Linked DNA regions of Homo sapiens: region 1 is linked to region 2. Evidence: promoter capture Hi-C in human tissues and cell types (Jung and others, 2019). All regions are on one chromosome and are shown on one strand. Each heading gives the region's core, a stretch centred on a gene start or on the middle of the fragment in contact. The rest is flanking DNA. Distances are from core to core; before and after follow the strand shown.

Evidence for each region. The method cuts DNA at HindIII sites, captures the fragments that hold promoters and counts their contacts. A contact is called where the count stands out against the background at its distance.
Region 1: a contact is called between a fragment that was not itself captured here and the fragment with the promoter of MMP16 in region 2, in 1 of the 25 tissues and cell types used here (dorsolateral prefrontal cortex).

Annotation. Positions count from the first base shown.
Region 1 is chr8:87,989,205-87,994,772 of GRCh38, forward strand. No RefSeq gene overlaps it. Among named protein-coding and RNA genes, the nearest start is that of DCAF4L2, 120 kb to the left of the region's middle. The HindIII fragment of the contact is 4,371 bases long and covers 1,609-5,568 here.
Region 2 is chr8:88,323,171-88,328,930 of GRCh38, forward strand. It overlaps MMP16 (matrix metallopeptidase 16), which reads right to left and starts at 4,313. Exons shown (of 10, transcript NM_005941.5): 1 at 3,905-4,313. The coding sequence starts at 4,036. It overlaps LOC105375630 (a long non-coding RNA gene), which reads left to right and starts at 4,674. Exons shown (of 8, transcript XR_001745653.3): 1 at 4,674-4,728; 2 at 5,759-5,760. The HindIII fragment of the contact is 8,411 bases long and covers 2,291-5,760 here.

The DNA of each region.
Region 1 (5,568 bases), core at 2,544-5,043, 330 kb before region 2:
ATCATATTCCATCTGTGACATATTTGCTACATCTTTAGTTTTATTTATTTATTTATTTTGAGACCGAGTTTTGCTCTTGTCGCCCAGACTGGAGCATGGTAGGGCTGCGGTCTTGGCTCACTGCAACTTCTGCCTCCCAGGTTCAAGCGATTCTCCTGCCTCAGCCTCCTGAGTAGCTGGAACTACAGGCGTGCATCACCAAACCCGGCTAATTTTCTGTGTTTTTAGTAGAGATGGGGTTTCCCGATGTTGGCTAGGTTGGTCTTGAACTCCTGACCTCAGGTGATCTGCCTGCCTTGGCCTCCCAAAGTGCTGGGATTACAGGTGTAAGCCACCACGCCCGGCCACATCTTTGTTACTTATAGGTGCCAGAGACTGTGGAATAGGCCATGTTACAGGGAAGGGGTCCCCCGATCAAGACCCCAAGAGAGGGTTCTTGGATCTCGTGCAAGAAAGAACTCAGGGCAAGTCCACAGTGCAAAGCAAAAGCAAATTTATTAAGAAAGTAAGGTGGTGAAAGGACAGCTACTCCATAGACAGAGTAGGATGTTCCTGAAAGTAAGAGGAGGAACGCATCCACCCTAGGCACCATGCTTGTATGTATGGGGAGATGTGTTCTGCTACATGGGTTTGTGATAAAGGATTAATTTTCTTAATTACTATATTTTACAAGAATCGATATTATTATCTTTAAAGGAAAATTAGGAGTACCTTTGTTCTCCAGATATCAGGATATCTGGACACTCCCAAGTCTGGGTCTGTTTAGCAAACATTATTAATTTGTTCCGTTAACTGTAAACATCTAGAAGCTAGGAATGCCTCACTTTCTGAGAATGCCGCCTAGCAGCTCTCAATCTCATTATTTCTAGCCCTCTCTCAAAATGGAGTTGCTCAGGTTCGAATGCCTCTTACAGCTGTGGCAGTGGGGGCAGGAGAAATCAGGTACTAGCACTGCCTAGTGGAACTCTCTCCATGATAGGGGTTATGATTACATTCAAGTATTTGAATGCTTTATTACTTTCACTGAAGGATTGTCAGTTTTCAAAAGGCTTTATGGTGACACAATTATGTTTCAATGCTTATCCTGCTATCCTGCTTAATCTAATGTAATGTATAAACTGTTTTCACATTTTTATTTCTTTTTCTGGGCTTCTCAGATACGTACTCCCTACTTTTGTCACATTGATAGTTGAAGGGCATCAAAAGAGGGAGGCTAAAAGATGTCTTCATGTATGTGACTACATATTCCATTCTTAACCCTTGTCCAGTTAAGCTTGATGATTCCAGTGAGTTTTTTGAAAAAATTAAAAGAAATATATAGGCAATAGAGAAAAATAAAATTTTGAGTTACATCCTTTTAACTTTTTTTCTTTGCATCCTCTGATTGCTCTCTTTATGAGCTGTGAAACTTCGTGGGTGCCCTCAGTTGTCCAAATGAAAAGTCAGGTGTGTGTGAATCACAGATACTTTGCCTGAACAAAATGTGTTACAAGGTATTTAATTGTCTTCTTTGCGTTCACATAATTAAAAAATCTGGGAAGTTAAACAAACCCTTTTACCAATTCTATGGGTTGTATAGTGAAGGTTCTTGGTGTGATTTAATATTGGGGTACTGTTAATTGGTTGGTTGTTTCCTCTTTCCAATCTTTGAGGAAATGTGAAGTTTATGTGATTTTTCTCTCTTTTAAAAAATTCTTAACATACATAATGATAGGGCAAGAAATGTGAAGGCAACAGGATAAAAAGAGACAAGCATAAATGCTGTGCAATGGTTAGGCAGCATGAAACATCTAGAATTTCTGACAATCTTAACAGTTGTCTTTGTGACTAGGATGTTCATAGAGCCCATCTTTGATTTAACAAAAATTTAAAATATTTTCAAATGATGATTTTTATGCTAGAAAAGAAAAAATGGTCTCCTCAACTGCCCATGACATCATAAAGCTTGAGCTTTCCTCAAACCTTCAGGAAATGATCTTGTGAGGCGATGCCAGTGTTCTACCCAGGAGAGATTAAGTTCCTAATGATACTATTTCAGCTATTTTGAGAACAGGGAAAACGATATACTCCAGTACAAATGTGTATATTTGTTTGATGTCTGATATCCTTTGCCATTACTAGTTTTCTCTTTCTTCCTAGGCCTACTTCTGTGACTCTAGGTACCAGAGAAATAAATGTGCTTTCTTCAAAGGCAAATCATGCAAGTCCTTTTTAAACTGTGACCCTTTCGTAGGGGTCAGTCTGTGTTTTTCCACATTCAAATAACCTAACAGTTTTCTAATTAGCACTTTCCACTCAAAGCATAGCACACTCTTCAAACTGGCAAATATTTTTGGCTTCTTTGTCAAACATAAAACTGCAAATATTTGGAGCTCTTTTTTTTCTTTAATTTGAGCAATAAGACTATTTGTCCAGAAAATGCACATTGTTTTACAGGGGCTTAGACACCCACCTGTGCACAAAAGTATGGATAAGTGTCAGATACAAAGAAACAATATGATTAAACTCATGCCTGCACTCGTTAGTTCATAACTGCACACACTGTCTCATCTCTTTTACAAAAGTAAATCAGGAATTGGTAACAAACCATTAGATAATCAGAGAAATGTAACTCTCTTGAACACGCTTGTTATCTATATAATACGGGCCAACTAAGTACTTTATAATCCCAGAAATCAATGCATACTGGATTTCAGTTTGACCCTAAATAAATTTCCATGATCTCCAGGAAGAGCACAAAGGTCTTCCGTTTATGAAGCCCCTGCTCCACGTCAGTCGCTGCTCTCAATTATTTTGCCCTCATTTCATGGCATTCTAACCACAGCCATAGGACATACATACTGTTATCCTTTTATTCTTAATGAGGAAGAGGAAAACCACATAGGTGCACACATCTGGATGTGACCCTAGTTTGTCTAATTCCAAAGCCTACTCTTGACTAGATCACCTGGTTTGGAGGGTGGGGGAAACTGCTCTAATTTATCTGATGTGGTCACTCTTCTAAATATACTGACTTAATCAATGGAGGTTAATTTCAGCTTATGTTCAGAAATGACAGCTACTGAGACTTGCTGTTAATATTTCCATTTAAACATCAAGCATACTTTGATCTAAAATAGTCTAAAATATCTGTATATGAGTAAAATATACCGGACACTAAGTGTATAATATCTCCCTGGGCAGACATGACAAGAAACAACAAATCTAAAATTGTTGACCAGTAACTTAATTCCAAGTCATTAATTCAAAGGAAGATTTATTCAAAAAAAGAAAAAAGTTTAAGAAGACATAAACTATAAGTTTTTTCCCTCTTCTGCCTCCTCCCTCTCCCCCCTCCTCCTCCTCTTCCTACTCCTTCTCCTCTTCTTCTTTTGTAATGTCAAGGGTGGGAAAAGAGACAAACGATTTAGCAACAAAAAATTGATCAGGAAAGTACATCTACACTGACTTACTGAAGATGTAAAGACTTTAAAAATATAAGGTACTGTTTAAAATATGTATCTGGGGCCGGGTGTGGTGGCTCACGCCTGTAATCCCAGCACTTTGGGAGGCCGAGGTGGGTGGATCACCTGAGGCCAGGAGTTTGAGACCAGCCTAGCCATCATGGCAAAACCCCACCTTTATTAAAAATACAAAAATTAGCTGGGCATTGTGGTGGCTACCTGTAATCTCAGCTACTAGGGAAGCTGAGGCAGTAGAATCACTTGAACCCAGGAGGTGGAGGTTGCAGTGAGCCAAGATCGCTCCACCACACTCCAGCCTGGGAGACAGAGCAAGACTCCGACTCAGATAATAATAATAATAATAATACATAATAAAATAAAATAAAATATGTACGTGGGTAAGGAAGGTAACTAAAGATTACCTTGAAACAATAAAAGCAAAAGCAATATTACAATGCTAAAGAGGTGGGTTTTTTTGTTCTTTTAACATTTTCATTTTAAGTGTTGTCAAAAATTTTAAAAAGCATTGTTTAAAAAGCAGTTATTGATATCTAGCCTTCCATATTCCACATACCATGTGCAAAATTTAGTACCATTTTGCATGTTCTTACAATGCGCATTTATTCCATGTAGTCTTGAATATGTAACATACAAAACACAGGAGAATTGGAGGCAATATCTTTTTTATACCATATTCTATCTTGGAGGATGCACTAATCAAAAAAAACTGCAAGAGATTTCTATAGTTACATCACTTGCTCACTTACCAACATGATCCACCTCTCAGACTTAGAGGACAAAACATACATATTAAAATAAATACATTCTCTATTATTTCAAAAACTTTTATATCTAATACCTAAATCAAACTATTTTTTAAAAGCTATTTTAAGTGAGGCTTTTCCCTTGTTCCTTCAAATAAATAAACTATTAAAATATTTTGCTTATAATCAGATGCACACAATTCCAAGAAGCTCACTAAAATATCCCAAAAGTAAGGATCCACCTGAATTCGTTATAAAAAGATGTTAATTTTCCTAAGGGAATCTAAAACACAGTCTTCCCTAAATTCTTCCTCAGCTTTCTTTTCCATCAGAATTAGGTCTAAAAACATAGAATTTTGCAGCTGGCCCTCGTTGTTGCACTCAAATGTGGCAAATTTGTACATATTCCTTCACTGTAGCTCATGGAATTGTATCTTCCATGCAGCCTAATCTTTTCCTCTTACTTTTCTCTACTATTTTGGTAATCATTGATCCTCTAACACATCTCAGTAACCACACGGATTGAAAAATTTTCCCTGAGCTCATACCAAGTTTTCTGAAACCTCAAGAAAACCCATTCTTTAATATTTCACAAAAGTCAGTCCTGGGCACCTAGTCAGAGCCTAAAGCCTCTATAATAGCTTCTAGAAATCATTTTTAGGGTTTTCTCCAACTCTAGGATAGCAATCTCTCCATTTAATCTGATATCTGAAGAGAGGTCTTCAACCTTTACTTTTTCTGAGATGTTCTGAAATTAAAAAGCCTATTAGTTGAGATAAACTCTCTGGGGGAGATTATGTCTTTCTAAGGCCTGTTTAAAATTGTCTACTGAGCCTTATACTCAAAGGTTCACTGCCTGACTAAGGGTTCAGGCACAGGTATTGAGAAGTCTCATGATGGCCCCCTTCTCTAATTTCCTGTTTGTGTGTGTGTGTTTGTGTGTGTGTGTTTTAATCTATTCACCTTGTCTCAGCTTACTTAAGAATTTGTCCTTCTACATCATAAAAATTACTTGTATCTTCAATGATTCTGCTTAAAATCACCTCCATAAAAAAATCGAAGTAAGTAGAGTTTGATGACAGTGACCCACAAATACCTCTGCCATACCTCCTCTCATCATTTAGACAGTTCAAGAACTCAAGTAAAAAAGCTTCAATCTGTGGTTTCTTATTTAATATCCCCTAATTAGTTGGTATTACTACTGTCTGTAACTGATTGTATCAGTTAATTCCACCACAATACATGTAAAACTATGGTCATATTTTGAAGCCTTATTTGGGCCGGCAAACTTTGCCCAGCTGATCACTCTTAATGGGATTTTGCATATTTTTTAAATTAAAAATATACTGGACAAAAGAGTA
Region 2 (5,760 bases), core at 3,063-5,562:
CTTGATTTTTTAAGCAAGCAAAGAACAAGAGAAAAGCAACAGTGTCCCAACATAAGAATGTAAAATTCTATAAAATATAATTTTTATCTCTGAAATGTCTCATGATTAATTATTACCAAATTTATATGCAATACAAAAGTACCCAATGCAAACTCTGACTTTTTAGGTACATGCAGGCAAACCTGACAAAGGTTTGAATAAATCTTAAATCAGTTAAGTAAATATATTGCAAGAAAAATTTAGGAAATAGTTATACTCAATTCATATTTGTCATAAAAGACCCCTTTGAAATCTAAAATATCTCTGCTTTCTTTAATCAGGAACAACAAAATCAATTTTTGCCTTATCAAGACTTTTTTTGTCACAAAAGAGTAATCATTTTATGCTTTGATATATGCATCATTTAGAATTTTATATGTTTTTATTTTACCACTAAATCAGCTTGAAAATTTTTTCCTCCCTGGAAATGTATGCTATTGTTTAGAAATTGATAAGGAATATGCTGTTCACATAAGTAATATCTGACAAACTATTCAGAGTTGACGATATGAGAGGTATTACTATCATGAACTATGTTCTGTCTCAAATTTCATAACAAAAATGCTCACAGCATACCAAAAAAAAAAGCCACAGGATCATGAAAATCCCTATATGAGATAGCTATTTTAGGAACAAAATGATTTTTAAGACAGTAGACATTAATAATTATTTGTTAATAATTTAGCTGCTTCTGACCAATGAACACCTCTGATTCAGACTGCTGTCCAATGACAACAGTTTTTGACTTTTAGTTAATATTAGCAATGTTCCCTTGCATCGTGCTAATTATCACATACTGAAAGACCAACTCTTAAAAAAGGGATCCAATGATATATGGATATCTTTACCTAAGTGAGTATATACTGAAAACTTAACAATAAAAGTGTTCCACTTGAAATGAAAGTAGAGCAGTGTATTGAATCTCTTCCATAGTACTACTCCTGGTAGTGTCTGACCCTTTCTTAGCTGTAAGAGATGTTCCTTTTTGCTTCTTAAAAAACAAGCTAACCAAGCAAAACCAAATGCACTCTCTTTCTGTAACAGGATTTCATCACCATATTAAAAATATCTCTCACTTCGATAATTGACAACTCCAAATATTTATACCCTTAAAAATCAGACAGGAAAGAGTTAACATGAATACCTCTAGCCAACCACCCTCTTCAAATCCCCCACTTCCCTGGGAAAAATATACAGTCTTAAACCTTAAATCACAGAGATAAAAAAGAATGGGGGGACCACAAATTGTTAAGTTTAGTGATGAATAAAGCAATGTAATCTTAGTTGTCAGCATAAAAAGCATCCCCCTGAAGCTTTGTTCCAACTATAAAAACTTTCTGTGCTTACTGAAAAAAAATTTTATGATCATATGAGCTTCATGCATGACTGATATCATTACTGTTTATTTTAAGACTATCCTTGAGAATCAATCAAATAAAACATTCCCAGTGTGTATGTTTTGCAACCAGAATGAGGAACACAATGTAAGTGCCTCTTCTGGAGAGGAAGTGATGGACCATTCTTCCCATTAGTGTTTCCTATCAAAAAAAAGTCAAATAGAAGTGAATCAGGCAGAAATTTATGTCAGAAAACATCCCGTCATTCTGTGTTCTTGACAATATTTCCATTTCACTAGCAGCTACTCCTACAATCTAAAAAAAAGGGGGGGTATCATTACACATAAAGAAGCTTATAAATCCAACCAAAATGAGCTCAAGAGCTTAAAAATACTATTTGAGGATAACATAAACTAAGGCATATAATCTGCTCTAAACCATGAAAAACTTCCCATTTTATTAAGCAAGATTTTAAAGGTCTGAGATGGCACATGACTTATCTGTCAGGCTTAAATCTGTGTAATAAATATGACTAGAATAATTTAAATCCTCTAAAAATGGGAAAATAACTATTTTCTCCATAAACCATTTTTCCCCACACATCTTAATGAAGAAAGAGAAGGGGTCATTGGAATCCAAAATTAAATAAAATTTGTTAGTACAATCATAACTTTTTTGCATAATAATATCTGAACTTACTGAGGGATTCCAATATAAAGAAATACAATCTTTTATGTTTAGTCTCACAAAAAATCTAATAATCATCAAAACTCATGTTATCCTAACCTCTGAAAGCAAATCTAATACTTTCCTAAAGCAGGTAACCATCAATCCAGGCTGTCCTTCCCTTCCCTTATTCAGAAAGACACAACCTTGCACTTACTTTTACCACCTCCCACACACTCCACCTCACCACCATCACCACCAACCTGAAGCAATAGGCCCTTCTGTTTATAACATTATAAATAACAGCTTGCCACTTTAATTCCTCCAGCCTATGAACTAATCCTTCATTTCAACATTAAATTATCTCTTGATTTAAATGTTAGGTACAAAAATCCATCTGTGGCACGTAATTCCAAAAGTTCAAATTTGCAATAAAAAAAGTCTGGACTTTCAAGCCCCTTTCTCTTTTTATCTAGAAAAATAAAGTTGTATTTTTCAAAGGGTTAAACCTTTTTAGTTTTCAAATTGGGTTTTTTTTGTGTAATTTATTCATACTTAATATCTGTGAAGGTCTTTAACTCTTGATAATAGCTCTTACTTTTTCAAATACTTTTTTTGTACTAACCATGACTTATTACATGAAGTCCTAAGAACAGTTTCTATAAACACAGTTATATTCAGAATATGCCTTTACACATGGCATTTATTATGCACACTCTGTGTATCAATTGGTTACATGAAGCATGTTCAAATACTGTGCAACAGGTCTTGCTATTGTGTAAACACACACTCCCAGCAAAATGACAATAAGCTTCATAATATCAACAATATAAGAAAAAAAATCACATTATTCCTTAAAAAATTATTCATAATTCGTTTGAGAGTTCAGAGGACATCAGATCTAATCAAAAGAAGTAAATGTTACTAAGACCCTCTTACTGGCTTTGTATCCCACCGTATATGTGATAAAGTTGTGTTACAGCCCAGGTGTATACACGCTTTCATTGATTTATTGCACATTACTGGCTTCAGTGCTGACTTGATGACAGGAAGAGTACTTTGGCAGAGGTCTGACAAGTCCCTATCCTTAAGTTCCCTTTTGCTTTGTGCCGTCTGTTCCCAAAGCTATCAAAGTAAAGCAAATGACAGTCTAAAACCTCCCCGTTTTGCCACGAGAGTGTGAAATCAAATTAAAAACACACCTCAAAACTATTACATTGGGCCACGTTTATTTTCAATTGGCGGGGGAGGGGGAAAGAAGACACTTAAAAAGAGATGGATTTCATGTCCTCTGTGTAGCCAGATCTAGTTACAGTGTATTAAGTTATGTCTAAATGAAAAAAAAAAAGATTCTCAAGTGTTTTATCACAAAGTAATGTTATTAAACACATCTAGTGTTCCCACGCTCTCCTCTAGATTCTTTGATTTTTAACCTCCTTTGTTAGGCACCAAACACTGGGAGAAAGATTTCAGGAACAATACCTAGGCAGCACATGATGCCAGGGAATTAATTCTGTCTTCCCCGAGCTGTTTATCCATCATAAACTCAAGCTGCCTTATTTAGCTACACGGTTGCTATATGTAGGACTTCTCTTCCCTGGGTGAAAAGCATGGACCGGCTACAATTGTGTCTTTGAGCGCGCAGCATCGTGCTTTGTGCTGCCGGGGATAACGGATTCTGGGTCTCACACGCATCCGTCACCTAAAACACCCTTAAACTGAACCAGGGTCTCCACAGCTGGAAGGGAAACAACGTGCTGGGACCCAGGCTGCTCTGAGCTACAAGGATCCCAGGAGTGAAGGAAATGTTTCAGGGAGCAGCCCAGGCAGCGGGGGGAGGAAGAAAGCCCTCGCACTCTTACCTCCACATTGAAATACTGCTCCGTTCCGCAGACTGTAGCACATAAAATCCAAAGCAAGGTTTGCAAGAAAAACACCCCCGAATGATGCACGAAATCCAACCGTCTTCCAGTGCTGAATGTGAGTAAGATCATAGTGAACTGTGCTTCAATGGATGGACGAGCTCCCCTTCGTTTTCTCCCTCTCTCCCTCTCCCTCCCTCCCTCGTTTCCTTTCAAAAAAAAGTCCTCCGGGTGGGTAAGGAGCCTGCAGGTTCACCCACAGCCGGGCAAGGGGAGGAGACAGGGGCCCCGCGCTCGGCAGCCCCCGAGAGGCAGCGGCGAAGACAGGGTCAGCAGTAGTTCCTGTTCACCATCCTCCGGGGTCAGTCACCGGGAACGTGGCGCCTAAGTTCACCGGCGGTTCCGGCTCAAAGAGCCTAGTCGCAGCCGCAGCAGCAGCAGCCGCCGCCGCCGCCGCCGCCTCCAGCCCGTGCGTCCTCCTCCTGCACTGCCTACTCCTCCTCCTCCTCCGCCGCCGCCGCCGCCCCCAGCTCCTGCGGGAAGGGCCTCCGCCGCTCCTCACTCTCTCGCCTCTGCTTCTCCTTCCCTCCTCTCCTCGCTCCCCTCCAGAATGTTCATCCGTAATCTACATAACTCCTCCTTCCCGGGGTCTGCCTGGCTCTCGGGGCCCTTGGCGCGCGCGCGCGCGCGCACACACACACACACACACACACACACAGAGACACACCGCGACACACACACACACACGCGCGCATACACACAGCCCGACACACACGCACGCGCGCTTCTTAAAGGAGACGGCTCATAAAGGATTCCCCACTACGGTAGGGCGCACCGGAGGTATCCAGCCCGCGACAAGGGCCCTGGTTTGAGCACAGCTCTTCGACAGTATCTCCCATCCCGCATCCCCGAGGCAGGCACCCAGGAACTTGGGCGGCTCCATTCTTTCTTCCCGCCCACCCTGCCGCCTCGCATCTAAAAACGAGTGCGCCCCTCTCCAGCCATGAGCTGGGTGGGGCTCAGGCTGCGGACCCTAGTGGGGCCTGGGGAGCGGCCCAACCCTGGTCCTGGAGAGCGGTCGGCATTCCTGAGGAAGCGGCCCTGGAAGAATAGGGGCGCTGGGAATCAGAGGAGCGCCTGGTCACTGAGCGCCCCTGGGTGGCTCGGGTCGGTGGCCGGGGCTGACCAAGTTTGGGAAGACTGAGATAGCAAATCCCGAACGTCCAAAACTTTGTTGGGGTCCCGAGCCTGTGGCCTGGTGTCTTCCTGAATCCCCTCTACCATAGCTACATTCCGCCTTCCAGGCTTGAGGAGTAGGCACAGGGTTTTGGTGGCGGACTAGACAAATACAGAAGCGGGATGAAAACGCTCACTTTCCAAGTGAACGGTGGACACACGCGCACAGTGGGACCCGGGAGAGATGGTCCTGGGTGTTAACAAAACATCCGATGAGAGGGATGGGGGCGCTGGAAAGAAACCGGCTGCGGGAGCCAGGGGAAGGGTTGGGGAAAGAAGGAGAAGAAGCAGCCTGAGGAAAGGCGAGTAAAGCAGCTGGCAAGGGCGGGAGGAAGAGGCTGCTCGCAGACCGAGCGGGGGAGAGGCTGGCGGGAGCTAGGAGAGCTGCAGGCAAGAGGGGGAGGCGGCTGGCAAGAAGCACGGGCGAACGCGGGCAGGGAACTTCAGAGGAGGCTGCCAGAAAGGACTGGAGCTGTAGCAGTGCGAGGCAGTGGACAGGGGGGGCAGCAACCACCAGCCCTTGGCAAGTGATGGTTTGGCTGAAAGAGGAAGGGGGAAGGGAGCGAGGCAAGCATCTGTTTGGGGGCTAATGCCAGTAAATGTGCTTCTCCTTGGCAGCC